Linked DNA regions of Homo sapiens: all the other regions are linked to region 2. The links are contacts of gene promoters, found by promoter capture Hi-C in blood cells and fetal thymus (Javierre and others, 2016). All regions are on one chromosome and are shown on one strand. The core of a region is centred on a gene start or on the middle of the fragment in contact, and the rest is flanking DNA. Distances in the headings are between cores, read along the strand shown.

Evidence for each region. Contacts are between HindIII fragments. The CHiCAGO score rates a contact against its expected background, and 5 or more counts as called.
Region 1: a fragment that was not itself captured here is called in contact with the fragment with the promoter of BACH2 in region 2 in 1 of 17 cell types (naive B cells); the score reaches 5.2 in naive B cells.
Region 3: a contact is called between a fragment that was not itself captured here and the fragment with the promoter of BACH2 in region 2, in 2 of 17 cell types (activated CD4 T cells and naive CD4 T cells). The highest score is 6.8, in activated CD4 T cells.
Region 4: a contact is called between a fragment that was not itself captured here and the fragment with the promoter of BACH2 in region 2, in 9 of 17 cell types (activated CD4 T cells, naive B cells, total CD4 T cells and 6 more). The highest score is 16.4, in activated CD4 T cells.
Region 5: a fragment that was not itself captured here is called in contact with the fragment with the promoter of BACH2 in region 2 in 7 of 17 cell types (naive CD4 T cells, non-activated CD4 T cells, naive CD8 T cells and 4 more); the score reaches 21.2 in naive CD4 T cells.
Region 6: a contact is called between a fragment that was not itself captured here and the fragment with the promoter of BACH2 in region 2, in 1 of 17 cell types (activated CD4 T cells). The highest score is 7.1, in activated CD4 T cells.
Region 7: a fragment that was not itself captured here is called in contact with the fragment with the promoter of BACH2 in region 2 in 4 of 17 cell types (naive CD4 T cells, non-activated CD4 T cells, activated CD4 T cells and 1 more); the score reaches 8.5 in naive CD4 T cells.

What each region holds. Positions count from the first base shown.
Region 1 is chr6:90,539,161-90,543,400 of GRCh38, forward strand. All of the region lies in intron 12 of MAP3K7 (mitogen-activated protein kinase kinase kinase 7), which reads right to left. Among named protein-coding and RNA genes, the nearest start is that of MAP3K7, 46 kb to the right of the region's middle. RefSeq lists a silencer at 2,176-2,376. The HindIII fragment of the contact is 1,080 bases long and covers 1,849-2,928 here.
Region 2 is chr6:90,295,369-90,299,615 of GRCh38, forward strand. BACH2 (BACH transcriptional regulator 2) reads right to left here and starts at 1,475. Exons shown (of 9, transcript NM_021813.4): 1 at 1,112-1,475. LOC105377891 (a long non-coding RNA gene) reads left to right here and starts at 1,871. Exons shown (of 7, transcript XR_942778.4): 1 at 1,871-2,368. RefSeq lists silencers at 654-713, 1,339-1,388 and an enhancer at 3,188-3,689. The HindIII fragment of the contact is 2,083 bases long and covers 256-2,338 here.
Region 3 is chr6:90,050,010-90,054,203 of GRCh38, forward strand. The region is part of intron 5 of BACH2 (BACH transcriptional regulator 2); the gene reads right to left. Among named protein-coding and RNA genes, the nearest start is that of GJA10, 160 kb to the left of the region's middle. The HindIII fragment of the contact is 5,124 bases long and covers 84-4,194 here.
Region 4 is chr6:90,449,888-90,453,663 of GRCh38, forward strand. No RefSeq gene overlaps it. Among named protein-coding and RNA genes, the nearest start is that of MAP3K7, 140 kb to the right of the region's middle. The HindIII fragment of the contact is 8,218 bases long and covers 1-3,776 here.
Region 5 is chr6:90,071,847-90,075,529 of GRCh38, forward strand. The region is part of intron 5 of BACH2 (BACH transcriptional regulator 2); the gene reads right to left. Among named protein-coding and RNA genes, the nearest start is that of GJA10, 180 kb to the left of the region's middle. The HindIII fragment of the contact is 875 bases long and covers 1,349-2,223 here.
Region 6 is chr6:90,502,063-90,505,849 of GRCh38, forward strand. No RefSeq gene overlaps it. Among named protein-coding and RNA genes, the nearest start is that of MAP3K7, 83 kb to the right of the region's middle. The HindIII fragment of the contact is 2,289 bases long and covers 603-2,891 here.
Region 7 is chr6:90,153,572-90,157,839 of GRCh38, forward strand. The region is part of intron 4 of BACH2 (BACH transcriptional regulator 2); the gene reads right to left. Among named protein-coding and RNA genes, the nearest start is that of BACH2, 140 kb to the right of the region's middle. RefSeq lists enhancers at 2,865-3,009, 3,043-4,242 and a cis regulatory region at 2,937. The HindIII fragment of the contact is 9,321 bases long and covers 1-4,268 here.

The DNA of each region.
Region 1 (4,240 bases), core at 1,139-3,638, 240 kb after region 2:
TCTTTACTAATTTTAACAAATTCTGGCTCTTTCACTGGAAAGGTCCGTCAGGTGGTTTATTTGCTTTCCAATAAACCAGCTTTATTAGCTTAGAGTTGAATTTTTTAGATTACAAAAAGTGATCTTGGTAGACTATACAATATGGCAGAAAGGCCACCTAAATATTCATTATAAAGTTAGATTAACTTCCCTATTTAATATGCCACAAATAGAGAATTTTATTGAAAGTGAGGTGGCTATACACAGAAACTAGTACAGTACATCTTAGTATAGCACCCCTTAGCCCTAGGATCCCTATCAAAGGCTTACATCTGCTAATGACACTATCTGTGCTAGGTGAGAACTTGCCAGATCTAGAAAAACTCAATTCTTTCTCTCTTTGCCTCTTCATATTGGTGCTGCAGTAGTCTGGAGGAAATATTTAATAACTTACATGCTTCCAGTTAAAGAAAGGTTTACAAACATTAGTTACCGACCGGCTCTTGAACCAAATATACTATTAAAAAAGTGATATTTTCATCCTGGTGGAGAAAGCAAAATAGTGCTCAGGTGTCCTTGAAAAGCATCTCTGCTTCCAGTTGTTTAAGCATTCTATAAAGCCCTCCCCACCTAGATAATTTATTTGCCAATACCTGACATTTGAAACTTCTGAAGGAGGGCAACAAGATACAAGTATTAGAAGCCTAACTACTCATCTATTTTTCAGTTAAAATGTTTGGGCCTCTCTACATTCTACTTACTCCAATTTACTACTTATCATACTGTTAGTAAAAAACCAATATACAATAGAGCTAAACGTCCTTGACTGAAATTAAAAGCGAATACGCGTTTTTTATTCAGTTAAGAGATCTAAATGCGGCTGAAATCATAAGGACACCTAAGGTTTCTTTTTAGCTTTAAGAATGATATAACAAACAATAAATATCAATTAAGTTCAGGTTCTTCAGGAAACTAGGCAAAAATCTTATCTATTTCAGTAAGATCTGACTCAAAAACATTTGTATATTCAATCTTCTTTTGCATATCCTTAAGAACAGTATGTAAGACAGAAAATCCTCTTTGGTCAAGGCATTTTATTGCTCTCGAATGTTATGCCATATTATTTTAGGCTTAGAAATAACAAAAGGTACACTAAAGCAACACTGTTCAAGGTTCTCAAATTGAAGCACTTCAAGGCAATGTTCATCTATAGAATGGATGGTTTTCAAGTACTTGAAATCAAGCATTATAATCTAATCTGAACTAAGAAATAAATTTATCTATGATGATATAATAGCATTAAAAATGTCTGTAATTTAGAAAATTTTACTTTTGCATATCACATTTGGGAAACTCATTTCACTTTATAAAAGCAATCAAGCCGGTATGAACCATGTACAACAAATTTTATATCAGAGTAGAAGTGCAGAAGACTAATGTTTAATTAAATCTTTTATAGGTGGTAAGTATATATGTATATGACAGTATTTTTTTCCAGTAGATTTTAGAATGCATTATAATTACAGTTTATTTCCTTAAATGCTATAACTACTCACACAAAGGCTCCAGAGCAGAACAACCCATCTTCCATTACTGATGCTACAAGCATGAAAAATAATTCGCTTTCTTAACTACTTATTCTCTTACTCTACATGTTAAACTGAAAAAGGTTGTTCCTCTTTTTTTGTAATATTTAGGCATTCTACCTGTTCCTCTTTGACATTTGGATTTTTAAAAGAAATGTAAAATTTAGGTATTCTTCTAACATCAGATGAACTGCATTAGAATGTCTTACATAGTTTCACAATCCCAATAATCTATTTCATTTGTGTACTTGAGATGAAGGTGGGTGAAAAATAGATTCTTGGAAGCTTAGATAGTGACAAAAAGAAAATATGGGAAAAAGTAAAGAAAATCCATGCAAAACAATGATCTGTGTTCTTACTGCCCTTATTAAAGTCCTAGAACAAAAAAAATCTAGAAAAACTTCAAAGAATCCAATAATCTGCTACCTATTCCCTTTTCTTCAAATATAAATGTAACAAATTAGATGTACTGGCTGAAAGGAGAAAGGATATGGTTTTTAAAACTCAAGTTTTAATAAAAAACATTTAAGAAAATCTATTTCTTTTCTCGAAGTCCCTTCCAACTTACCAGCAAGCAAATGCATTAGAAAACTGTAGTTCATATGGTCTAAATACTGGGCAAGAAACTTCCACATTTACATTTACTTTGCTTAGGTAGCACACTGCTACTTGGCAGGACCTTCTCTACAAAGGAAGAGTCAGCAAAATGTCACACACTCTACTGGTAATTTGCTCTTAGCTGCGTGTCTTCCTTGGTAAAAAGGAGCCAGGCTAATCTATAAAGCTCACTCTTTTAAGGGCAGATGGACAGTGGAAAGAAGGAAGGGTTACCGTACAAAAGTTTGTCAGTTCTTCAGAGCCAGTAATATGGTAGAAGAGGTATAAAAAATTGTACAGTCTGACCCACAGGGAGTCCTAAGGTATTAAAGGTTAATTTCTGTATGATCTGAGAGACTACTAAATTGATAAATAGTGCTGTTTTGCTAAGTTGCTTTTTCTTCCACATTTGACTGATGGCATAGTATACACATTTTGAAGAGCGAGCAAAAAACAAGATTACAAGATTAGGGTCTTTGCATTTCTTTACCTATGACTAGGTTAGACATTTTAGTGACTTTAAAGATATATATACAAAACCTTTTTTGTGATGCTTGAAGGATTGCTCTTATTAAGAGAGGTAGTTCATTCCAAGAAGTACATTAGACTCAGTACATTGCACTTGGCCAAAGGGAAGTATTAACGAAACTCTTATCCATGTAAATAAGATCTTTAAAAAGCTATATTTAAAAAGAATCCTTGCAATTGGGTTTTAATGCTAATTAAACAGTTTGAATATATCAAGAAGTATTTGCTAATACCATAAAGCTTGTGGGAAATCCACTTAGAACAAAACAATTTCTAGAAAGTATTAAGAAATTTTGGAAATTAAGTATCACCCTTCTTTACAATTAAAATGTCATGTAGGAAATTTGAGATATTCCCAAAGGATGGGCGGTATTTTTATATTTAATTTAAAAACATTACCTATGAGCACATTCATGATTGGCTTTTATGTCCACTAGTGTCAATTCTACAGCTTGTATTCTTCTATTAAAGAAAGTGCACCTGAGTAAGTTAATGTTTGATATCTGAGGGGGGAAAAGCCTAAAAAGAATATTTAATAAAAGGTATTACTGAATAATATTTTCATATGAATAGCACTGCTGCTCTGGCAATTAAGAGAATTAAGGTTACCTGATTCCATAAAGGCCCAATGTCATAAAAGAGGATCTCCCTGGCTGAAGAGCTCTCCTTAATGTGAACACTAAGAGAAAGCAAGAAGAAATTACTCTAGCTTCTCTGACTTAAACAAAAGAACAAAAAATGGATGTGACTTGGAGTCAGAAGATCTGGGTTGGGGTCCTGGCTATATGATTCTGGAAAAACCACTAAACATCATCAGATCTAAGTTCTTCGTCTGTTAAACAGCTATAATTTCATCCGATAACCTAGTTGTAAGATTGTATAAAGGTAAAATAAGATGTACTTTAAGCTACTTTGTAGGGCACAAAGAACATCTAATCAGGGGTTTTCAGCCTCAGCACTGCTGCCATTTTGGGCTGGATCATTCTTTGTTGGAGAAGACTGCCTGGTACACATCAGGATGTTTAGCAGCATCCCTGGTCTCTGCCCACTAGATGCCAGTAGTACCTGACAGTTATAAACTATTATTCTTTCCTTATTTTTCCCTCCCCCATTATCTTGTATAGCGTGGGCTACGCTGCCATATATAAATTTATTCTTAATGCTTAGTCATAAGATTACACTGCCATCTGTCTAAATTTTCCTGATTCCCTCAAACATTTAAGGGAAGCACAGTTCAGCGGTATGTAAGTTTAAATGCTTCCACCTCTTTAAAGTACGTCCCTTATACACAGTACCTTTCCGCATGGAGGTAAACTGATCTCCATGTAAAATGATCTCTTTGTTAATTTCTGAAGCAGTCCAGATTCAATAAATAAAAATTACCATGTGAAAAATGGGTTAACTCTACTCTTTGAATAGCAATAGTAATGATGTTGTAAAATAAGAAACCACTTTGATAACCAGGGGAAAATTAATATAAGATAGTTTTATACAGACAAAATGGCACCTAAGAATAGTATAATTCATATTTTTGTATGCTAGTTTCTCAC
Region 2 (4,247 bases), core at 225-2,724:
CCCGGCCCTGCACGCTTCCCCTCACGGTCCGAGTTCCTGCAAATGCTTGGCCAGACCGAGGTCGCCGAGATGCTCGCTCCAGTCTCTCCCCTCGTGGGCACCTAGGGTAGCCCGTGAGCGCCGCCCGCCGCCGTCTCCAGCGGCGCCGGGCTCCCGAACACCCGCCGGGTGAGCGAAGCACAGCGGGGCCACGGAGCGCCTCGACGCGGGGACGGGGAGGGCAGTGTCCCCTTCATAAACCAGTCTCCTGGGTGAAGCTTCTGGGGCTTGGAGACTGGAGTGTAGGGTGTGTGTGTGTGTGTGTGTGTGTGTGTGTTGCACCTTGACTTCATGGAGGATCTGTGGGAGAGGAGGTGCAAGGTTTCCCTCTCAGAAGCCTGGCGCCCTTAGGTCTTAGCTACGCGGGACGCTTTCCGACAACCCGATCTTTCGCTAGGAGAGATTCGATCCAGGTCTGCGCCGCGAGGCCCCCAGCTCGCCTCTTCCTGCGACCCTAAACTTGGGCTTTGATTCCCCGCCGGTCGCGGTGGTCCGGGCCACCCGGCGGCGGCTGACAGCTGAGCGCAAAGGCGCCGCGGCCAAGGTCCTCGCGGAGCAGCCCGGGATGCGCACGCCGAGGGTTAAGGAGGAGGCCGCCCGGCCTGGAGCTGGGATCGCAGGCTGGGGGCCGGGACACCCGGGCCTCGCCGGGCCGGGGGCAGGGCCGCGGGTCTGACAGCTGCTGCGGCTCGCGCGGACGCGCGCCTCCTGCAGCCCGCCCTCCCCATGCCTGACTTATTACTCTCTGCTCCTCCTCCCTCTGCTGTTCCAAAACACCCTTCGACGCCAGCAAAATACAATGCGCCTCGGCCGCCGTAAACAGCCGGGAGGGAGAGCACACATTCGGCGCGGCGCGGCCGCCGGCTCGGCTCCCACCCCCTTCCCGTTCCTAGAAAATGCCATAAAAGCGGGCAGGGCGCGGGGAGGGCGGCTGCGCGCCCGGCGGCCGGGGCTCCCTTCCCGCGCCGTTTCCCCACGCCTCCCCGCCCGCCCCGCGCGCCCGCTCCCCCCGCAAACTTGCCCCGCCACCCCGCCCAGCGGCGGGGCCCGGGGCCCGGGGCCCGGGACTCACCTCGCCGGAGAACTTTGCGTCCTTTTCCGCCTCCTCTTCCCCGCGTCTTCCCGGCTCGCAGCCCCCTCCCGGCAGCCGGCGAGGTGGGCAGTTCGTGGGTCACCGAAAGCTCGCGGAGGGGACGCGCATCACATGGCAGCTCGTTCCCAGCCCCCCGAGTGCGCCGGGAAGGGGGAGGGGAAGGGGCGAGGGGAGGCCGGGGGGAAAGCGAGAGCGGGGCGGCGGCGGGAGTGGGCAGGCGGGGTGGCGAGGGCGGCGGCCGCTCACGTTAGCGCTGTGCGACCGCAGCCCGGGCGTGCACGGCCGCTGCTGCCGCTGCTGCTGCTGCTGCTGCTGCTGAGGCGGCGGCGGCTCGGCGCTGTTTGCTCCGCGCCGCGCGGCTTGCGCTCTCCCCGGAACGCCCACACTCTCAATCGCTACATTGTTGACATTCGGCGCTGACGTCACCCGCTCCCCATTCACAATAACTTTACGGGAGCCGGGCAGCGCACCTCCCCGGCCGCTGGGGCGCGGTACGCCCGGCGACTAGCGTAAGCCGCTCCGCGAATGGCGCTCCGGGGGCTGGGGCGGGGGGCGGGGGACGGGGGCGGGCGCGCGCGCTCCGCTGGCTCGCGGGAGGGGGCGCGCCTCATGCCGCCGCAGCAGCAGATCTCCCCGCTTTGTGCGGCCGCGCGGCCCGGAGAGCCCCCTCCTCCCGGCCCGGCTGACCGCCCCGCTCGGCCTGGCCTTCCCGGCCACGAAAGACGAGGGTTGGGGGCATAGCAGGGTGAGAGTAGTGGTGAGGGCTGGTGTGGCACGTGGGGAGGGGGCCAGAGCCCTAGGTGCTGCACCTGGGGAAGGAGAGCAGACGTCGGGACCGGGGATCCCAGGGTTAGCTAGCGTTTTCCCGGAAGGGCAAGAAAAGATGCTCCACTGGCCCCCACAAAGCTGACCGGACTCCCTTTTGGGTGGGGACCGGGCGAGTAAAAGCAGCCTTTTGAATGTTGACTTCTCAATCCTTTTCAGGAGGCCCTCCGCCTGCCCTACTGAGCGAACCTTTAAGCCCCCAAGCCAGTGTTTTTGGAAAGAGAGTGGTCAATTTCAGGAGGACATTAAAAGCCAACCTCCCGGGCTTCAGCCCCAGCTCCTACTGCCTTCCAGCCACTCTCCCCTGCCTTTCCTTTCTGCGGCTCTTAGGATGTTGTTGCTGCCCTTAAAGGCCGTCGTGTGAGTGCCCTGTCAGAAGAAAGCTTGGTGGTGGTTAGGATTTTACAGAAGGTAATTAGGATTTAGGCTGAATGTACATTTGCAATAAAATAAGGTTGTGTTAGTGTTGTGCTGGTGCCTGCAACTTTACCTCTTGCCAAGGCCAGAAAATTCTGCCACGTTTCCCTAAACACCTATAACTTGGCCCTCTTGTGTACAGGCAGTATTCCATATTATTACACGTGGTGCTGATTTTTAATGAATATTATAAAAGTTTGGCTCGCTCTACTGAGAGAAGGATCATAAATCCCCCCTGTAAAACGGGCACTGGCGTATGCTGAGGAAGCAGTGAAGCGTCCTGGGAGTCTTGTGATATCATCTAAAGTGTTGCTCTGAACTACCTTCATTTGAGGGCAGAGTTTTGAAAGGCCCCATTTGGAATGTCTGTGTGGAAAGCTAAGTGATGGCTGAAAGCAAGCTGAAGGTGCTGAGCTAATTTTTCTAACAGCACTGCAGAGTCCCTGCGTGGAGGTCTGGCACGGGACTGTGAGATTTTCTCTGCTAACCGACCCGGCCTTCAGATAAGGAAAAGTCCTAGAGCTAGGAGTAGCCCTCAGTCTCCTGACCTCTGGTCTGGTGCCCCCTAGGACAAAACACCCTGCTTCTGAGGTCCCTGCCTGACCCCTGGCAAGGACAGAGTACTAATTCCTGGTCTGCCCTGGCCAGGCCGTTTCTTATAGTTTTATGGATGGTTCTGTTTCTCATTCCTCATTCTTGTAAGTATGTGTTTGTGAGATAACTTTACGCATTTTAGTAGCAGCAATAAATGTTTTTCTCACAACAAGGGATGCTTGAGAGCATCCGTATGAGAGTGGTGTAGATTCATTTATTTTCAAGCAAGCGGTGGCTGCCCAGCTGTGAGTGGAGTTGGGCACATCAGCGTAGGGGTGGTTGAGGAGGGAAATGAGGCTGCCAGCTGATCTCCCACCTCCATTCTGGATTCTACAAGCTGATCTTGTCAGATGGATACAACAAAGGCTAACAGGTCATTTCAGTTAGTCTGCTTGCCCAAAGACTCAGACTGGAGCTTTTTCACTTTGAGATTTTCAAGCATGAGGTGGGACATTAAATAGAGATGAAAAAACCTAAAACACCTGTGATAGGTTGCATCATCCAGTCATTCAAGGAGGCTGAATTAGGAGTAGTTAGCCTCTCAGGTTACATCCAGCTCTGCAATCATGCACCTCTGGCTGTAAGACGAAATCTTTGCTTTGGATAAGCTTTGAAGTCTGGTAGTGAGTTCATTTTTCTACTTTATTTTCGGTAGTTAGAAGTGGGTTATTTGAATTCAAGCCGAAAAATACATTCAGAATTATGTGAAATTAAAATGGTAAGTCAAGTACTAGACACTCATTTAACAGTACTGCTGCAGAGGTTGGGCTGTGGACAGCCTTAGCACCTCCATCATGAGTTTGCATGGCCACTCCTGGGCTTGTGCTGCTCTGGCAATTTAGGCGTTTATGATGTGAAACAGATCCAGGTCCTTCCCTCTGTATAATCATGGCAGTAAGTTGAGTGGAGGTCAATTTATTTCTCATGCCTGGAGCATTCAACCTTTCCTGATATACATTTTTTTCCTACATAATTACACATGTGTGTTGATCCAGAGCATGGGCTTTGTCTGTGATTCATTTCTAAGCATGATATTTCCAGGGACAATAAATCTGTATCATGGCATTGAAACAAATAAACTTTATTTCTATAATAGAAATCTTCTTGATTGTAGAAAATAAAACAGGAAAAATTAAAATATACAGGAAACAGATGAGGAAAGGAAGACGGACTAAAGACATGGGCAGTTCTTGAGCCTTTGATTTTCTTGCTCTCCAGCACCCTGTACAGGATTTGATGATGTTGAGAAAATATTGTATTTTTTCTTAGGCAGAACAGT
Region 3 (4,194 bases), core at 1,396-3,895, 240 kb before region 2:
ACTGACAGTATTTGTTGCCACTGATAAAATCTAAGCTTTCAAATAAAAACGTGATTTTTGGAAAATGTGTATTTCCTACTGTAAGCTTGGCAGCTTCCCCAAATTTGAGAGGCTTTTCTGTTAAGAATGATAATAACATTAATAGGTGATTTTTTTTGAACATTAAAATAGTGTCATCATTTTGAAGATCTGTGTAAGCTGATAAAGCAACATGTTCCAATCATACAAAATCATACTTGGTAAAAGATTTGATGTGCAAGGCAGAGTAATGAATTTTAATATAATGGAGTTTGAAAAGTTCATTGATATGGCTTTAGATTCCATATTGCAACTAACTTTTAAGAAGTTACCACTTGTCAAATTTTAACGTAATATCGAAGAAGAACACCCACAATATTTGAAAAACCTATTAACTCTATCCTTGTCCAAATACACATCTGTGAGGCTGAATTTTTTCATATAATGAAACAAAAATGACATATCACAAGATTGAACACTAAAAGAGATATTAGAATCTAAATGTCTTCTAGTATGCTGGACATTAAAGGTATTGGGGAAAATACAAAACAATGCAATTCTTTTCACTTTTATCTTGAAAAATATAGTTTTTTCATAAAGATATGTTATTCATGTTAACATGTAGTGAGCTTATTACTGTGATTTTAAAATTAACTAATAGATACTTTAAATGTTCAGTTTTAATTTCTAATAAGGTAAATATAGATAAAACCCAAATAAACGAAAGCTCTTTGGGGTTCTCGGTAATTTTTTTTTTTTTGAGATGGAATCTTGCTCTGTCGCCCAGCCTGGAGTGCAATGGCGCGATCTCGGTTCACTGCAACCTCCATCTCCTGGGTTCAAGCGATTCTCTCCTGCTTCAGCCTCCCAAGTAGTTGGGATTACAGGTGCCTACTACCATGCCCAGCTAATTTTTGTAGTTTTAGTAGAGATGGGGTTTCACCATGTTGGCCAGGCTGGTCTTGAACTCCTGACCTCAGGTGATCCATCCACCTCAGCCTCCCAAAGTGCTGGGATTACAGGCTTTTACAGGCTGGTAATTTTTAAGAGTATAAAGGGATTCTGAAACCAAAATTTTGAGAACAATTGACCTGAGCATATTAAACAATACAATTTTAGTTTATTTAGGTCTTGCATAAGTTCTGTTAGATTTGTTCTGAGGTACTTAAATTTTTGTTATTATCATTAATAACTTTTTAAACATTACTTTTCTGTGTTACTGGTATATAAGGCAATTAATTTTTATTGATATATATTGTATATTGATCTTATATCCAGTCACTGTGCTAAACTTTCTCACTGGACTTACTCTTTTACATCAGTCTTACTGTTAGTACAGGACTGGCAAATTATGATCCTGTAGACTAGATACAGTCTACCATGTTTTTAAAACAACAATTTATAGGAACAGAGCTCTATCCACCCATTTACGTATTATCTATAGCTGCTTTTGCACTACAGTGGCAGAGTTGAGTAGTAGTGAGAGAGACTATGGCCCACAAAGTCAAAAATATTTACTATATGCCTTTTTACAAAAAAAGTTTACCAAACCCTGTATTATGAACTCCATTCACAGAACCAACTTTTGGCTCTGTTGATACCCTACATAGTATTTACAATTTCAATTTAATTAATTCTGTTCTCATCTTTATTCATCCTTCCTTTCTCATTCGTCTTTTTTTTTACCTTCTCAAAGTTAGCTTCTTAATTTTCACTTTTTCCTTTTCTAGTAACAAACCTGCACGTTCAGCACATGTATCCCAGAACTTAAAATAAAAAATAAAAATAAGAAAAACACTTGAGACTATAAATTTTCCTCCAAGTACAACTTTTACTGTATCCCACAAGTTGATATATCATATTTTCATTATCATTCAATTCTAAGTATTTTAAATTTTCCATTATTACATCTTTGATCAATGAATTATTTTAAAATGTTAAAAAATTTCCACATATAAGGGGAATTTTGGGGAGTTTATGTTTTAGTTACCGAATTCTAATTAAATTGTATTATGATCAGATAATGTGGTCATTATACTGATTCTTGGAAATCTGTTGAGACTTGTTTTAGGGGCATAGTATGAGGGCAAGTTTTGTAATTCTTCCATATGAAGAACACATATATTCTATTTGTTTGATGCAAGATTCTATGAATCAAACTATTCAGTTGTACTGCTTCAATGTTATATTTCTTTACTAATTATTTGTTATGTGCTTGACCAAGCAATATCTTGGAGAAACATGAAATTTCTCTATAGTTTTATTAGTTTTTGTTTTACATGTTTTGATGCAATATAGAAATGTTATACCTTTCCAGTGAATTAAAACCTTATCAATAGGTAGTGCTCTCTCTATCCTGATTTTTTTTTGCCTTAAAGTCTTTTATCTATCTATCTATCTATTTATTTTTGAGACAGGGTCTTTCTCTGTTACCCAGGCTGGAGTTCAGTGGCATGATCTTGGCTCACTGCAACCTCCGTCTCCTGGGTTCAAGCGATTCTCATGCCTCAGCCTCCCGAGCAGTTGGGATTACAGGTGCAGGCCAGCATGCCTGGCTAATTTTTCATATTTTTAGTAGAGACAGGGTTTCGCCATGTTGGCCAGGCTGGTCTTGAACTCCTGGCCTCAAGTGATCTGCCTGCCTCAGTCTCCCAAAGTGCTGGGGTTACAGGCATGAGCCACCACACCCAGCCCTTAAAGTCTATTTTGACTGATATCAACAAAGCTACATAGCTCCTTTTTGATTGGTATTTGCTCGAATACGAATTGTTAAATGTGTATTTCTCTAAACACTGTATAGCTGAATTGGTATTATATTTTTTAAAAAATCTTAATGTTTACTCTATTTTTTAGCCAGAAAGTTTAGGCAATTTACATATATTGTGATTGCTGATATATCTGCATTTGTTTTTATAATATTATTTTCTATTTGTCCTACTTTCCTATGCTTTATGTATTTTTTCTTTCTTTTTTGATTTTTAAAAATCAGGCTTAGAAGTTATACACTAGTTCTTTTCTTTTAGCAGTTACCCTTGAAATCCAAAGTTAGTAGTTTAACCCCTTCAGAACAACAAAAGGAACTTATAATGCAAACTCTGATTATCTCCTTCCTCATATATAGGGAGTTTTACACAGTATTTTAAACCAGCAATATTTGTTTAGATTTGCCTACATGTTTACCAATTTCTTTGCTTACAATTTCTATTTTTCAGACCTTTTGCTATCTCTTTTCTTCTTTCTGAAGTATACGCTTTTTTTTTCTTTTATTTAGAGACAGGGTTGTACTTTGTCATCCAAGCTGGAGTACAGTGGTGTGATCAAGGCTCACTGCAGTCTTCAACTCCTGTGCTCTAGTGATTCTCCCGCCTCAGCCTCCTGAGTAGCTAGGACTACAGGTATACACCACCCATTTGGCTAATTTATTTATTTATTTTTGTAGAGCTAGGGTCTCACTGTATTGTGCAGACTGGTCTTGAACTGGCCTCAAGCAATCTTCCTGGCTTGACCTCCCAAAATGCTGGGATTACAGGTGTGTGTCACCATACCCAGCCTGAAGTATATTCTTTCAAGTTCCTTCAGTGTAAGTCTGCTGGTGGTAAACTCCCTTAGGTTTTGTACGTCTGAAGAAAATACTTCACTCTCATTTTGAAGGTTATTTTTGCTGAAAACACAATTTTAAGTCGAAAATCATTTTCTCTCAGAACTTTGAAAATATTTCATCATCTCCTGGATTTAGTCATTGCTGTTGAGAAGTCTGCTGTCAGTCTAAGTATTGTTCCTCTGTGGATGTGGTCTGTTTTCCCTATGGCTCCTTTTAAGAGAGCTGTCTTCAGTGATTCACAGTTTTACTACGGTATAAAAAGTTGTGAAGGCCTTTTTATTTGTCTGTTTAGATACACTGCTTCCTATATCTCTGGATCAGTATTTCTCATTGAAAAATTCTGGAATGCCGGTGGGGAGGAGCCAAGATGGCCGAATAGGAACAGCTCCGGTCTACAGCTCCCAGCGTGAGCGATGCAGAAGATGGGTGATTTCTGCATTTCCAACTGAGGTACCGGGTTCATCTCACTGGGGAGTGCCAGATAGTAGGTGCAGGACAGTGGGTGCAGCGCACCGTGCACGAGCCAAAGCAGGGGGAGGCATCGCCTCACTCGGGAAGTGCAAGGGGTCAGGGAA
Region 4 (3,776 bases), core at 643-3,142, 150 kb after region 2:
TGAGCTTTGGCTCCCTAGAAAAAAAGAACTGAAAGAAAATAGCTATTGTTCTGAATATAACCATAATGATGCCCAGAACTGAAAACTCTGGAGTTACATAGGAAAGGGTATCCATGACTGGTGAGAGGGAGATTCTATTACCAGAAGACTTATTTCAATATGAAAATAATACATAGTGTAAGCCAAAAAGTATCTGAGACAGATCTCCATCAACTTAGAAGTTTATTTTGCCAGTTAAGGATCATAACCCATGACATAGTCTCAGGAGCTCCTGAGAACATGTGCTGAAGGCAGTTGGGTTATAGCTTGGTTTTATATGTTTTAGGGAGACATAAGACATCAATCAAGGTATGTGAGATATACAGTAGTTAGGTCCGGAGAGGCCAAACAACTTGAAGAGGGGAGGGGTTGCTTATAGGTCATAGGTGAATTCAAAGATTTTCAAATTGGTGATTAGTTGAAAGGGTTAAACTCTGCCTGAAAAGTTGAAGTCGGCTTGAGGTAAGGGTTGGGGGGTGGTGGTTGTGGAAGCCAAGGTTTTTATCATGTAGACAAGCCTCCAGGCTTCAGAGAGAATAGATGTGAATGTCTCTTACCAAAGGTATCAGACTGTTTGGAGAGACCTGGTAAAGGAAGCAGATTCTCTACAGAATGCTAACTTCCCCCCACAAGAAACAGCTTTGCAGGGCCATTTCAAAACGTGTCAAGTAAGCATATTTTAGGGTCAAAAAACTTCAGTTTCTTTCAGGGCCCTGCTATCTGTCATGTGATGGTATAATAGTGAGGTTGAAATTTGGTGTCTTATGGCTACAGAGAGTCTGTTCAGTCAGACAGACTCCAGCCCCATCTCTGCCCCCCACCTTTCCATCATGACCTGAACTAGATTCTCAGGTTTCATTGTGTCCCCTTGGCTGAGAGGAAGACCCATTCAATCAGTGGGAGGGGCTTAGAATTTTATTGTCATTTATTAGCATTACCAAAATGCATAGAAAACACGAGCTGCATTCAGCACTTATTTATTGAGCATGTAGTAGGGACTAGCACTATTCTAGGCACGAAAGGTGCAGCCATGAATATGACAAAATGCTTGTTATCGTGGTTTTATGGTCCACGGTGGGGAAGATAATAAGCGAATCAGTAAATAAAGAAAACATAGAGTGATAAGTGCTCTACATGGAAGCCACTTTAAGGTAGGATGAGAGAGAGTGAGGGGGTGTGGCTAAGGAAGGCCTCTTTAAGGAGGTGACCTTGAAGCTGATGTCTGAATGTCAAGGAAGAACCAAATCTACAAAGTTGAGGGGAAGAGCATTCCAGGCAGAGAAACAGCTCTCAGGCACTAAGGTGAGAGAGGTTGGTATATTTCAGGGACAGAAAGACACTGGCTTGTGTAAACCAAAAATAAAATTCTAAGGTCCCCCAGCCATCTGAATGGACCCCTCCTCTTGGCCAGGACACTACAAAATTAACCTGAAAAACTGGTTCAGGCCACGACAAGAAGAGGGGGTGGGACATGCCTCATTATACCCTCCCCACTTTTGAAATTTAGAAAAAGCTGACCAGCATTCAACATCAACACAGACCTTAAGTCTAATTAGAAACATTTACAACCTGTGCTCTCTGAGGCCTGCTACTTGGAGTCTTCATCTGCATGATAAAACTTTGATCTCCACAACCCCTTATCATAACACAGACATTACTTTCTATTGATAGTAACGCTTTTGACCAATTGCCAATCAGAAAATTTTCAGATCTTCCTATAATCTGGAAGCCCTCCTTCTCCTTACAGGCCTTTCCAGACCAAACCAATGTATATCTTACATGTATTTGATTGATGTCTCATGTCTCCCTGTAGTGTATAAAACTAGGCTGTGCCCTGACCACCTTGGGTACATGTTCTCAGGATCTCTTGAGGGCTGTGCCATGGGCCATGGTCTCTCATATTTGACTCAAAATAAATCTCTTCAAATATTTTACAGAGTTTGACTCTTTTTGTCGACACCTGGTTTAGGAGGCTGAGAAAGAATGATACAGCATGACATGAGCAGCGGGCAGGGGCCAGATCACAGAGGGCTATGTAAGCCATGGCAAGGCATTGAGTTTTACTATAAAGAAGTTAGGAAGCTACTGAGGGGCAGAAAGCAGAAAAATCACATGGCCAGATGAGTATAGTGTTTTGGAAACTTTTCATTTTGATATGATTTCAAACTTACAAGAAATTTGCAAGAACAGTGAAATGGTTTGGCTCTGTGTCCCTACCCAAATCTCACCCTGAATTGTAATAATTCCCACATGTGAAGGGTGGGACCAGGTGGAGGTAATTGAATCATGGGGGTTATTTCCCCCATGCCGTTCTCGTGATAGTGAGTGAGTTCTCACGAGATCGATGGTTTTATAAGCATCTTGCATTTCCCCTGCTGGCTCTCATTCTCTCCCCTGCCACCCTGTGAAGAGGTGCCTTCTGCCATGATTGTAAGTTTCTGAGGCCTCCCCAGCCATGTGGACCTGTGAGTATTGTTTGTCCCAATACTGGTGATGTTAGCTTTGATCACTTGCTTAAGGCCATGTTCCCCAAGTCTGTCCTCTTTAAAGTGACTAATTTTCCCTTTGTAATTAATAAGTCATTCCTGAGGAGTTTCTTTGAGACTATGTAAATATCCTATTGCTCATCAAACTTTTACTAGTTTTAGCACCCATTGATGAATTTCTAAATACATCACTTCTATGTTTATTATTTGGAATTCAACTATAAGGAAGAGCTTTCCTTTCTTCCATTTATTATGTTAAAAAGAGATCATAGGAAAGTAAAAATGAAGCAAGGAAATCAGTTAGTAGGTTGTTGAAGTATGCCACAGGAGAGGTAATAATGGCTTCTACCAATGTGTGTTGGCAGAGGATGGAGATAAATGGATAGATTCAGCCTATGTTTTAAGGTGAACTTGAGAGTTTTGTCAATGGTTTGGATGTGAGGGTGATGCAAAGAAAGTTATCAAGGATAATTTCTAGATTTTTTGTCATAAGCAAATGGTACCATTTAATGGCTCCAGTTGGTGGTACCATGATGGTGCCATATATCGAGATAGAGAAGACTGGTGGAGGAACTTTGGGAGGGAAAATCAAAAATTTTGATTGGGCACAAGTTTCAGATACTTGCTTAACATCCATGTGGCAGTGCCAAGGAGTTCAAATAGCTGGTGCGAGGGAGAGGGAGTGATGGGTATATACATAATATTTAAAGCCACGACACTGAGTGAGACTAATGAGTGCAGACGAAGAAGAGGTCAGAGCACAAATCCTGAGCTACTTGAAGAATCAGAAGTCAGGAAAATGAAGCAAATTTGGCAAAAGTGCTGGACAAGAGGCAATTAGCAAGGGGGAAGCAGAACCAGGAGAGTGTGTTGCTGGGTAGGAGAAAAAAGGATTTTAAAAGGAGGGAGTGGCAAAGGCTGCCGACTTCTGCTGAGAGCTCAAGTGTGATGAGGACAGGGCTTGCAGGTTGGACTCTGCAGCATAAAGAGCGAAGGGGCTGGAACTCAGCAGAAGTGGGTTGAGGGGAGAATGCGAGGTGAGGAAGTGGAGGCAGTGATAATAATCAAGGACTTTAGGAAGGTTTGCTGTGAAGGAGAACAAAGTAAAATGGTGGGAGCTGGGCAGGAATACATGGTCAAGAGAGTTAATCTTTTTTCTTTCTATTATTTAATATGAGAGGTAAAGGATCATACTATCTGTTAGAGAAAGTAAAATGGGTGATGCTGAAGAGAAGAAAGAGAGAAACAAAG
Region 5 (3,683 bases), core at 536-3,035, 220 kb before region 2:
ACAAAATGTTATTAAGAAAATCATAAGAGAAAATACATTTCCTAAGTGAGAGTGGATCATCATAAAGGGCTTCATCCTCACGGTATTCACATTGAGCAGACTGAGGAGGAGGAAGAAGAGGGATTGGTCTTGCTGTCTCAGGGGTGGCAGAGGCAGAAGGGGTGGAGGAGGTGGAAGGGAGGCAGAAGAGGCAGGTACACTCAGTGTAACTTCTATCGAGAAAAAAATCCACGTATATGTGGACCCACGCACTTCAAACCTGTGTTGTTTAAGGGTTAATTGTACTATGTTCTCCTGTTTTAAGAAGTATCTGTTGCATGGAGTTGAAAGTTCTTCAACTTGTTTACTGTATTAAGTGAGCATCAAATAGCCAAAGCACTGGCAATGTTACTATAATAAGTAGTTTTGGAGGTTGTGCCTCTACTTGAGTGAACTGTTTGATTAGGTTAGAAAAGCAAATGGTACCCTAAGTATCAAAAGGCAGCCAAAGGTCACTCAGGGCCACAGGCTGGACCACAGTGCTCCAGGGTCTTTGCCCCATTATGAGCTGATCTGTTTTTCCCTTCAATGCCTCCAGCCAGCAGTGTTGAAATGAGATATTTTAGGATTTCCAAACTATTTCTAAGGCTGTTAGTCACAAACTCTTATCAAGGCAGTTTTCTCAGGTTGGTTAGCAGACAGGCTCAGAGCCTCACCTTTGCAGGTCAAAGCTCGAGAAACCCTCCACATGATAATTCACGCATCTGTTATTTTTTTACCTGTCCCTTCTCTGCCTTTAGCTTCTCAGTCATCCAACCCCGCCTCTGTGAAAAGTGCACAATGACTCAAGGCTTTTCTTAGGCCTCTGACAGGTGAACAAAGAAAAACACCTTTCACAAATCCATTCTATCAAGGGATAGAAGAAGAGAGAACAGAGCCTTCAGTAAAGAACCCTAAACATCCCACCAGAAAGTCCCAAACAACCCTGAAAAGTGAGAATAAAACTACCAAAAGCTGACAGAGGGTAACAAGCATTATTTCCAACCCACACTTGTCCTTCTAAAAAAAACCAACCCGCTACTGAAAAAACCCCTGAAATGTATGAAATCTAACATCGTTAACATATTTCCTGTCCTCACATAGCTTATAAAAATGTTTCTGAGCTTTTCCCTGGCTCATTTACAACGATGAGAAGGAGCAAAAAGGAAATGCAACAGATGGTACTGAGGGAGGAGGTACTACCATCCTCGCTCACAGTCATCCATCTTCGCAGTAAGTTATCCCCGCTTGGGCGAGGTTTCAAACGTTTTTCAGATGTACCAATGGCGTATTCTTGCTCGAGAACAATGAAGATGAGGCTCCTTTAAAAAGCTTCAGGTTAGAAGGCATGTTTACTACTGTCTATTTTTGTTGTTTCTAAAAGAGATCACCTCAGCTTTCCCTCTGAACCTCCCCAAACTGACTCTGCGAGAATCTAATCTGGTACTGATTTAGAGCTGACAGGTGGTACATGCATAATTAAAGATGACCTAACACAGAATGCTCTCATTCCTGGCATATTATCAGACACTTAAGGAAAGCAATTATCAGTAGGCAATCTTTTCTGTCAACAGAGATCGAGATGAAACATTTCTTCAATTAAGAGAATTCTGCAAGGATGCTGTACATATCCATCTGCAAATACTTGAAAACCTTTAGAGGTTAATACTAAGTCAGCTCAATGAAACACCTTTGGCCAGTTAACACATGCTCTCCTCTCCTCCCACTTTTCCTGGGAGGTCACATTTCAAACATCAAAATCGGAACAATTTTAAGGTGCTGCCAGACACCCTGACATGAGCGGACAAGGAAATCTCTGCATTTTTCTGCCTTGCTGAGGTCTGAAAATATAACAAGTTTTCCTTAAAGGTTCAAAGCAAAAAAGGATAGGGTTCACATTAAAGCAAATTCAATTAAAATTTCCCTTCAGAGCAGGATTATTCCCTCTCCATGCTCCACCCATGTCAGAAGTATTTAGAGAATTATTATCAAGCCTTAAAACTTCGTCTTGAATCTAAGTGATTTAAAGGATTTTTTTCTTTCATTTTGAAGAAATCAATATTACTCAAAGAAAAAAGGGACTTGACAAAAACGGAGGAATTTCCCATTTCAGGTGAAGGAGGGAAGAGGTGCCGCATTTCCTGATAGAATACTGTGCTTTTTATAAATTATAGTGCATGCACTTTGTATAAATGAATGCATTTAAGCTTTCCTTAGAACAGAAATTGCTTTAATGTTATAGTGAGACAAGTGATTTTCTTTTCTTTTTTAAAAGGGTAGTTTATAAGTTAATGGTTTTTTGAAGCCCATGTAAAAACTGCCTTCCACAAGACAGAGAACTTCACAATGTTTGTGGTGCATATTTTGCCACATTTCACAAGAGGTCTTATTGTTTAAATTCTTATAGCCTTATGTCATATGTGAACAAATGACTTTATTGTTCATTTGAACATGTCTTTATAGGATCTCTGGTGGTAGAGCTAGTGTTGTTGTTTGCATTTTTCCCCTCAACAAGCCAGAACAAAAGTCTCTTTTACTGAAGCGCTGGGAACTCAGGGACGATGGCAGTGTGGCAGCAGTTGTCAGTTGGAAACACCATAATGATAATGTAAGTGAAGTGCTCACATTAAGGGGTTGACTTCTGACAAGTCAAGGTCTACAGAAAAGTTTCCGCTACAGCAGACATTATGGTAATGCAAAAACAGAAGTACTTAATAGAATAATTAAGAATCATCCAGTACACTATTACTGCAGTAGGGCTCAATTCCTTTCGAGATATGCTTTCCTTGGAAGAGACTCCATTCAGAATATTAGGGGAAAAATATCAGTAGCCTTTGGGGAGAACATAATCAGATGGGAGGTGGAAGCGATGGCGGGATCATTAATGGGAGATTCAGTAGGACTCAAAGCTCAAGTTCATTATATTCCTTAGAACTAAGAATAGCTTCTGAATGAGTACTCACAATTCTCCACAGACCTATTTCTCCTAAGGAGCTCCCCCTTTCTCCCTTTCCAATTTTAATCTAAGAAAAAGAATAGAATACAGACAGACATGGGTAGGTAAGCAGGAACAAAGGAACCTCTACAGAATGGAAGAGAATCTAAGCTAGTTCCGTTTTAGATGTTGTTAAATCCCTTTGACCAGGATTCAATTTAGAACAACTCAAAAGATACAGTTTGACAGCATGCTGCATCAAGAGGACAGGAGAAAGAAAGAAGTCACAGGTGTAATGTTGTGGCAAACAACAAAATGTTATTTCCCAGTGCATGTCATGGACGAAAAGAACATATAAGATATAAGGCACATACTACCATTAAAGTAAACAGAATACAAAAAGGAAAGATTTTAGTGAGTTTATGTAGGGAGAGACCCTCATTTCTCACACAACTCAGAGTCCCTGACTTTTGTAGGACTTCAGTGAATAAAGCAAAGTCTGTAAGCACAGCCTTTCTATGCTGAGGATGATATATGGCACAAAAACATTTTACATGATGCCTTTTACACTTAGATATTATTTTAGAATCATAAACTAAAAGCGTTTTTAAGGTGGAGGTACCCGGCATAAAATAGATGTATCTTCTTTTTAACCAAGGCTTCTCCTGTCCACACTCAAACCTGGCTTTCCAAGTGTGTTGGCTTTACTATTTTATGATTGGATGAATAA
Region 6 (3,787 bases), core at 497-2,996, 210 kb after region 2:
GTAATCCCAGCTCTTTGGGTGGCCAAGGTGGAGGATTACTTGAGCCCAGAAGTTTGAGATCAGCCTGGGCAACATAGGGAAACTCTGTTTTTACAAAAAATTGAAAAATTAGCTGGGTGTGGTGGCATGTGCCTGTAGTCCCAGCTATGTGGGAGGCTGAGGTGGAAGGATCACTTGAGTCCAGGAGGCTGAGGCTGCAGTGAGCCGTGATTATACCACTGCACTCCAGCCTGGGCAAGAGGGAGCCCTTGTCTCAAAAAACAAAACAAAACAAAACAAAAAATAAAAGGAAAAAAGTACAAAATAAGACATTTTTTCTCTCAAATAATCAAAGAATTGTCTCTGAGTTGGGGCAAACTTGGCTGTTTCATTTTGATGAACCTGCCTCTTGCTTATCCACGGAACAGTCTGCTACAACAGCCTGCTTGAATACTTTGCATTTCGGACCAACCACCTCCACATTTGTCATTATGACAGGTTGTTATTTACGGGGAATGGCAGGTTGTTGAAATCCTAAATGAAGCACTAAGGAATGAAGCTCTAAGGACCAATTATAGCAACAATGCTTAAACATTTCAGGCAGCAAAATTGGCTCAGCTACAAGCTTGTTTAGGCAAGAAAAAAATGCATATTTCCTATATTTTTGATTTATAGACCAACCCAAAGAGTGTGTGATTTCTGTTGATTTTAACATAAAGTCACCTAAATTAGGAGTATGCAGTTTTAACTGCAATAGTTGGCATGGCTAATATGGGAAAAAGTAGATTAACCCGATGCCTCCCAAATGTGCAAATATGCTAAGCCATGTTTAAAACTAAGGTAACTCTCTAGGGTAATTTTTCTGGTCTGCTGTGATGTCCCCAAGTGGCTGGCAAGTGTCATCTATTGGCAAGGCCTGAACAAGAGCACAGCAGGAAACTTTCCCCTTATCTGTTTGAATGAATGACTAAGCAAAGTTTAAAGGCCATTTCACTCTGCTCTTAAAGGTATGTGAGCATGAAGATGACATGCTCCTTTGGTTCCCAGTTTCAGTGTCTGATCAGTTAGGCATAAAGGTGCTTTTGTCTACACAGGTTTCATGTGTGTGTTCTGTTGATGAGTCTGTTGACAACTCCATAAACTAAGTGTCTCCAAGGCAGGCAGAGATTGAGATTTGTTTCTCAGAGATTAATGAATGTGCCTCCATTTCTTTCCCTCAAAAGAGACAATACCACTTCCTGTAGCTTTCCTTGCGTGCTTCAGATTGAAAACCTTATTGGGCTGCAGAAAGATTTATGATTCACGTATATGTCGGTGGCTATTACTGTAGAATAATCTGGAAAACTGCTAGTCACAATTTGTTCCCTCTCAATGGTTACCGACTGATTCATTATGCTGGGCTCTTGTGTCTTCTCTCCTTCCTTCACATCTCTCCTCAAAATGTTAGATTCTTTGCCACACTATTTACAGACTGTGGTAAATATAGCAGGTTGATATCAGGGTCACTTGTATTATATATGCTATAATGCCTACACCATGTATTTTTATGTCAAGTGATTAAGAAATGTATAAGAAAAATGGTAATAAGCTCTCCATCACCATCCACCCTTCCTGGGATAAACACTGTTAAGAGTATCCTTCTCTCTTGTTTTCTGTATTCATATGCATGTCATATTATAATTTTTTGTCTTGCTTAACAGTTTTTTTTGACCTAAATAGTATATTTGCTCTTCAATGTCCTATTTTCATGTAGCAATAGGTCACAGACATCCATCTAGATCTCTGTATATAGATTGAATGCATTCCTTTAAAAAACATTAATTTACCATAATTGATTCAATCTTTCCCCTACTGATAGACATTTTTCTTGTTGAGGTTATTTTTTTAATAAAAAATTTGGGGGCCATTATACACAGTGTTTCAAATAACTTCTTGGTATCTATGTCTTTACATACAGATATTCTTAAGGCTATAGATTTTTCAAAGTAGGAATGTTGTGTCCAAGGGTATATTTTTACTTTTAATCGAGGCTTGTTTTGTTATATTTAATACTTTCTAAGTAATAAATACAACAAAATAATATAATTATATATAATATAATAATAGATATTATATAACATATTACATTATCTATTATATATCTACTATCATATATAATATATAATAAATGTAACAAAATTAATAATATATTAATACTTTCTAAGTAAAAACTATAACAAAACAAGTCCAAGATCTCTACACTAAAAACTACAAAACATTGCTGAGGGAAATTAGAAAAGATCTAACTAAATGGAGAAAATTCCTATGTTCATAGATTGGAAAATTCAACATTGTTAAGATGTCAATTTTCCCCAACTTGGGTCTATACATTTAAGGCAATCCCAATCAAAATCCCAATAGACATTTTTTTTTTGGTAAAAATTAACAAGCTGATATTAAAATTTTTGCAGAAATTGCTAAATAATTTTTTAAAAAGAACAAAATTGGAGAACTTACATTACTGATTTCAAGAGGTGCTATAAAGCTACAACACGAAAAAGCTACAACAATGGAGAAAAATAGTGAATTCACCAACAGACTCATATACACATGGTCAACTGATTTCAACAAAAGAAATAAGACAATTCAATGAGGAAAAGAAAGTCAATCAATAGTGCTGGAATACAACTGCATATCTGTATGGAAAAAAAATGAACATTGATTCTTACCTTAAACCAAATATAATAAATACTCAAAACGGATCACAGACCAAAATGTAAAAGCTCAACTATTAGGTTGGTGCAACAGCAATTGTGGTTTTTGCCATTAAAAGTAATTACTGTTGCACCAACCTAATAAGTAACTTCTAGAAGGAACAGAAGGAAAAATCTTTGTGAGGGGTAGGCAAAGATTTTTTAAAACAGAACACAGGAAGCTTAAAATAAAAAATTAATAAATTGGACTTCATAAAAATTAAACCTTTTTCTCTTTGAAAAATATCAGTAAGAAAATAGAAAGGCAAACAGAAAAGAAAATATTCACAGCACAGATATCAGACAACAAACTGTAACAAGAATATACCAAAGTCTTACACCTCAATATGAAGAAAGGAAACAACACAATTTTTTTAAATGGGCAAAATATTTTAAGACACTTCACCAAAGAAATTATATGAAAGAAAAGCCCAATAAACACATGCCAAGGGGCTAAAAGTAGTCATCAGGGAAATGCAAACTAAAACCACAATAAGGTCCCACCACACACCTATTAGAATGGTTAAAATGAAAAAGACTGACTATACCATGTGTGGGCAAGGATATGGAGCAAACGGAACTCTCATACACTGCTGCTGGGAATATAAAATTACATAGTACTTTGGAAAGGTATGGAAGTTTCTTGAAAAGTTAAACATATACCTATCATAAAACTCAGCTATTCTAAGTATTTACCCAAAAGAAATGAACACACATGTCTACATAACAACTTGTACACAAACATTAATATCAACTCTATTTTTGTAGGAGTGCCAAACTGGAAATAACTCAACATATCCATCAATAGGTGACTAGATAAACAAAATTTGTTACATCGATACAATGGAATCCTGCTTTTAAAAAGGAAGAAACTATTAATATATGTTAATAACTTGGGTGAATATCAAATCATGCTGAGTGAAAAAGTCAGCCAAAAAGAGACTAAATCTTGTAAGATGAAATTCTATAAAATGCAAAATAATTACAGTTATAGAAAGCAGACCAGTAGTTGCTTGGGGATGAGGGTGGAGGAGAGATGGATTATCAAACGGAACAAGGAATCTTTTGGGATTGGG
Region 7 (4,268 bases), core at 555-3,054, 140 kb before region 2:
AACAGATAAATTTTAGATTGTGGCAATTAAGTGAATAGCAATCTGATAGCTATAGGATTTACCTTCAAAATCCAGGCACATTCATGTATTTATACCAATCTCTCTCCATGCTAATATTCTTACAGAGGAATTTTATTAAAACATGGCTGAATCTATCATTTCAGTATTCCCAGGCACAAGGCAGTGAGGAAATAAAACACTCCTTCTATGTTATGGAACCTAGAGAAAATAATTCTTTCCTAACCAGTGGGGTACATTTTCCTCCTTGAGGTTCGTAAGACAAATTTTGAAAAAATCATGGTGCAGACTATGTAATTTACGCTTAAAGTATTGTAACTGCTTTTGTGTTAGGATTCATATTATGAGAAAATTCACATATATTACCCTTTTACGGCTTGGTTATAGATCTATTTTGATTATGGTCATTGGAGCCTAAAACATCCACACCCTAAAAAGAACATATCATTCCAATCTCTATCTCTTTTAAAATAGGGACTTTGGGCTATAGCATGTTTTTCTCAATAGCCCAACTCCCTACTCAGAGATACTACTATAAAAGCTGTATTTTGGCTGGGAGTGAGGGAGGAAACAACCCTAGCTATTTGCAGAGTAGAATTGCAGGTTCCATTGGCAAAAAAGTGCCAGAAGTAGAGGAAATGCAGGTTACAAAGCATACAGAGGAAGAGTGACAGATGAGATGAACAAAATTGATTCATGGAGAGAATCAGATCAGGACAAAGGGTAAAAAAGTCTCAAGAGCCCAATCACGTCAAAAAGATCAATTTTTAGGAGAAGTGTAGTCAATAGTGTCTTAAAACAAAATTAGAAGTGGAAGCAATTTTGAAGGTCATTTGAAGAGTAATCTACTCCTTTTATAGATGAGAAACTGAGACCTAGAAGGAGTAGGTGACTTTCTCAAGGCCACTCTATACTAGGAGGTGACAGACATGTGCTGCACAATTCAGAATAATGAGTGGTAGGTTCAGAACCCAAAAAGTTCATAATGAGCCAGGGTAGCCCCCTTCCTCTTTAAGGGACCCTCTCTCTAAGCGCCCCAGCCTTGCTCCCAAGGAGCACTGCACCTTCTGAATCTGGTGAGTGATGGGGAACAACAGGCCAGGAAGGGAGGAAGTATATCTGCCAATGCTCAAAACGTGTTCATTCTGATGGCCCTAGTTCTAGCCTGCCTTTTGAATAGCACTGCGTTAGTCAGTACTGGACAGGAAGCACAAGTGTTACTTTGGCAGGGTCCTGTCCGTAGAAAGAGACCCACTGAGAGCCTCTTGTGTACAGCCACAGACAATGGGATAACCCACATGCTGGCCCCTCCCAGTCAGCTACCAAGGCAGACTGCGGAAAAGGGGACAAACTGGCAGGAAGAACTTGAAGCAGGCTCAACCATAAGTCAGGTTGCACAGCAGACATGAGGAGAAGGGGCACTGCAAAGGGAGAGCTAGGGATCATAAATCCAATGCTATTTGAGGCGGAGTGTCTGCGATCTGTAATTTATATGGATATAATAAGCTCCATGCCTAAGACACCGCAGCCCCAAACAACCACCACCAAAACACAAAGCACATGTTTAAAGGGGTGAATTACCCAAAACATCAGGTTTCTCCACATGGCTAGACTAAGAAGGCTGCAAAATCTATCACTGTTATGGGCTGGAAAGCCAACCAGGAGAGCCTTCTTAGGACTTCTAAAGGGAAACATTCTGGATGAACCTCTTGGTCTTGTAAGAAGGGAGGCTAGTTATGTTTAACTATAAACACATGGCAGTAGGTGTCAGCGATATGTTCCATTCGAAGACTATATAATAAACATCATTTTTGGAAAAGGAAACTAAACTAAGAATAGATAACCTGAGAATGCCATGCAAGGGCTAGAGCAACTTCCCATCCTTTTGCAAGCATTTAGCAATCAGGTTTCGCCTTTAGCTGAACTCCTTTCATTTCATGCAATATTTAATTTATACAGAGATGATTCATTTGCAATAGTAAATCATCACAACATTCTGTAAAAACAACAACAATAACAAAAGACTAGAAATATAGGAGGCCTACAACAAGCACCTAATTTAAAACTGCAGCCTCTTCCTATCCCCAAATTGGCCCTCCTCTTTCCTGCTCTGTTTTTAAATTTTTTTCCTAGCAATTACCACCTTCTAACTTACTATAATTTGCTTGTTTATTGCTTATTTTCTGTTTTCCTCCAATAGAATAGAAGCTCTAAGAGGGCAGCAATTTGTGTCTGTTTTGTTCACAGACACATCCCATGCATTGAGAACAATGCCTGGCACAAGCAGGTGTGCAAAAATGCTGGCCGACTAAAAAAAGTCATGGATGGGTTGTCAATATTGCATAAAGTCCTATTCTCAGATGACAATTGAGGTGGCCTCATCACTAACTACAAGAGATTTTTTTTCCCCAATGGAAATCACCAAAGTTTTAAAAAAGATTGGAATTCCAAGGTTAGTGAGGGAGTTCCGCTATCTGATGAAGCAGTGACTCACCTGAAAAGTTCCAGGGGACCTAATCCCAATGTGCATGGGGCCCAACCTCCTGACCAGCCTTGCATATCTGAAGGTGGGGAGGGAAACTGAGGTAGGTATCGAGTGGTGTAAAAAAAACGCTTCACAAGAGTTTTTCTTTATAGCCTTACAATTTTAATACTTTTGTATAGCACTTCCCAGGCATAAGCAACACTTCCACTGCATCTTACTCTACTTTCATAACAACCCCTGTAGGCAGTAAGAATTATATTCTGAATCTTGGAGAGTGTGCTACTTGCCCAGGGTGGTTGGCCAAAGTGGGACTGTTCCTATTTTGGTTTAAGAATGCAAGTTTTTGGGTTACAAATTCAGTCCTTTTTCTACATGGCATGGCCAAAAATAACATTCTCAAAGATGGGTTACTTAGCTGCCCCACTCTCATGGTTTACTTCAGGGGAGCATTGTACAAAAATGGGTGATTGTCTAGTTTTCATTGCCAATATGCTGGGAAATAAAGAAAATAATGAGAGAACACCAAAGTTTCTACTACCAAACAAGTAGGCATTTCAGGTGGTCTTTACTTAGGGCCTTGCATTTCTTAGGCTAAGTTGTGTTATATTGAGCTGAGGTGGAGGACTATGAAAAAGAAAGGCAGCAGATTTCACAGGGACCATTCAAAGCCCTGCAGGAACAACAACAACAAAAATGCTATGAAACAACACGGAGTAACTCTTGCATAAAAATGGAGAAAAGTAGGGTCTAAAATACATGCACCAAAACCCAAAAAAGACATGGAATACATGACCCAGGCGGCCCTGAAAATCTCATCCTCACACAAAGAAGAACTGTGCAGCATCCAGAGAGAAGAAGGGATGGTAGCTGGGGAGATGAGACCTTTGGAGAATTAACTACCAAAGGGGATGAATCAGCTCACGTCTGACAACACCTACAGATTCTGTCAAACCTGCCGCACTCTTCAAGAGCTTCAAGGCTCACAAACAGGAAATTGCTGGGTATGACTTAACCTGACTCTCAACCTCCTTAGAGAAGAGCTTGCCCCAAAAAGGTATGAACAAAGTGCAGAGCCAAAGGGCAAGAGGTGAAGAAGAATACGAGCTCACATTCCAGGTGTGGGGCATTTAGTGGAAGGAAACACTTTTCGAAACATATGAGTTATTTGGGATTTAGCATTGGGCTCAATGCCAATCAACATATTCACTTGGTAGACCAACACTTCACAGAAATGAGAAAAGAGAAAACAATTACAAAGGAACTCTAAGGGCACAAAAATTTGTGAAGAAGTGAGATTGGGTTGTTAATTTATTCATTCACTCATGATATTCTGCATCAGATTATTTTCAGAAGCAAAAAACTTTGAATTGACCTAAACAGTAAGTAAATTTATTATTTTACACGACAGAGTTGCCTGGAAGTAAAGCCAACCCAGGACTGGTTTAGCCCACAGCTCACTGATATCCTCGAGGGCCTGGGTTCTTTCCATCTTTCGGTCCTATTTTGTAGGTTCCAGGGAAACCCATACCGCTGTGCATGAGCCAAGCTGATGACCAGATCTTGTATATCTAACAACAAATTCACCCACTGGATCAGGAACTGGGGCTGGGACCAGCTGCCCGAGCAGATGGCCGCTTAGAGGAGAGGAAATACTCCAACCAAATCAGGGTTGCACCAGCTAGAAAGGGGCTAATGGCCATTGAGTGAGCCCCTGGAGATATCCACGATGGTCATTTGAAAGGTATTCATTGAGCACCTACTATAT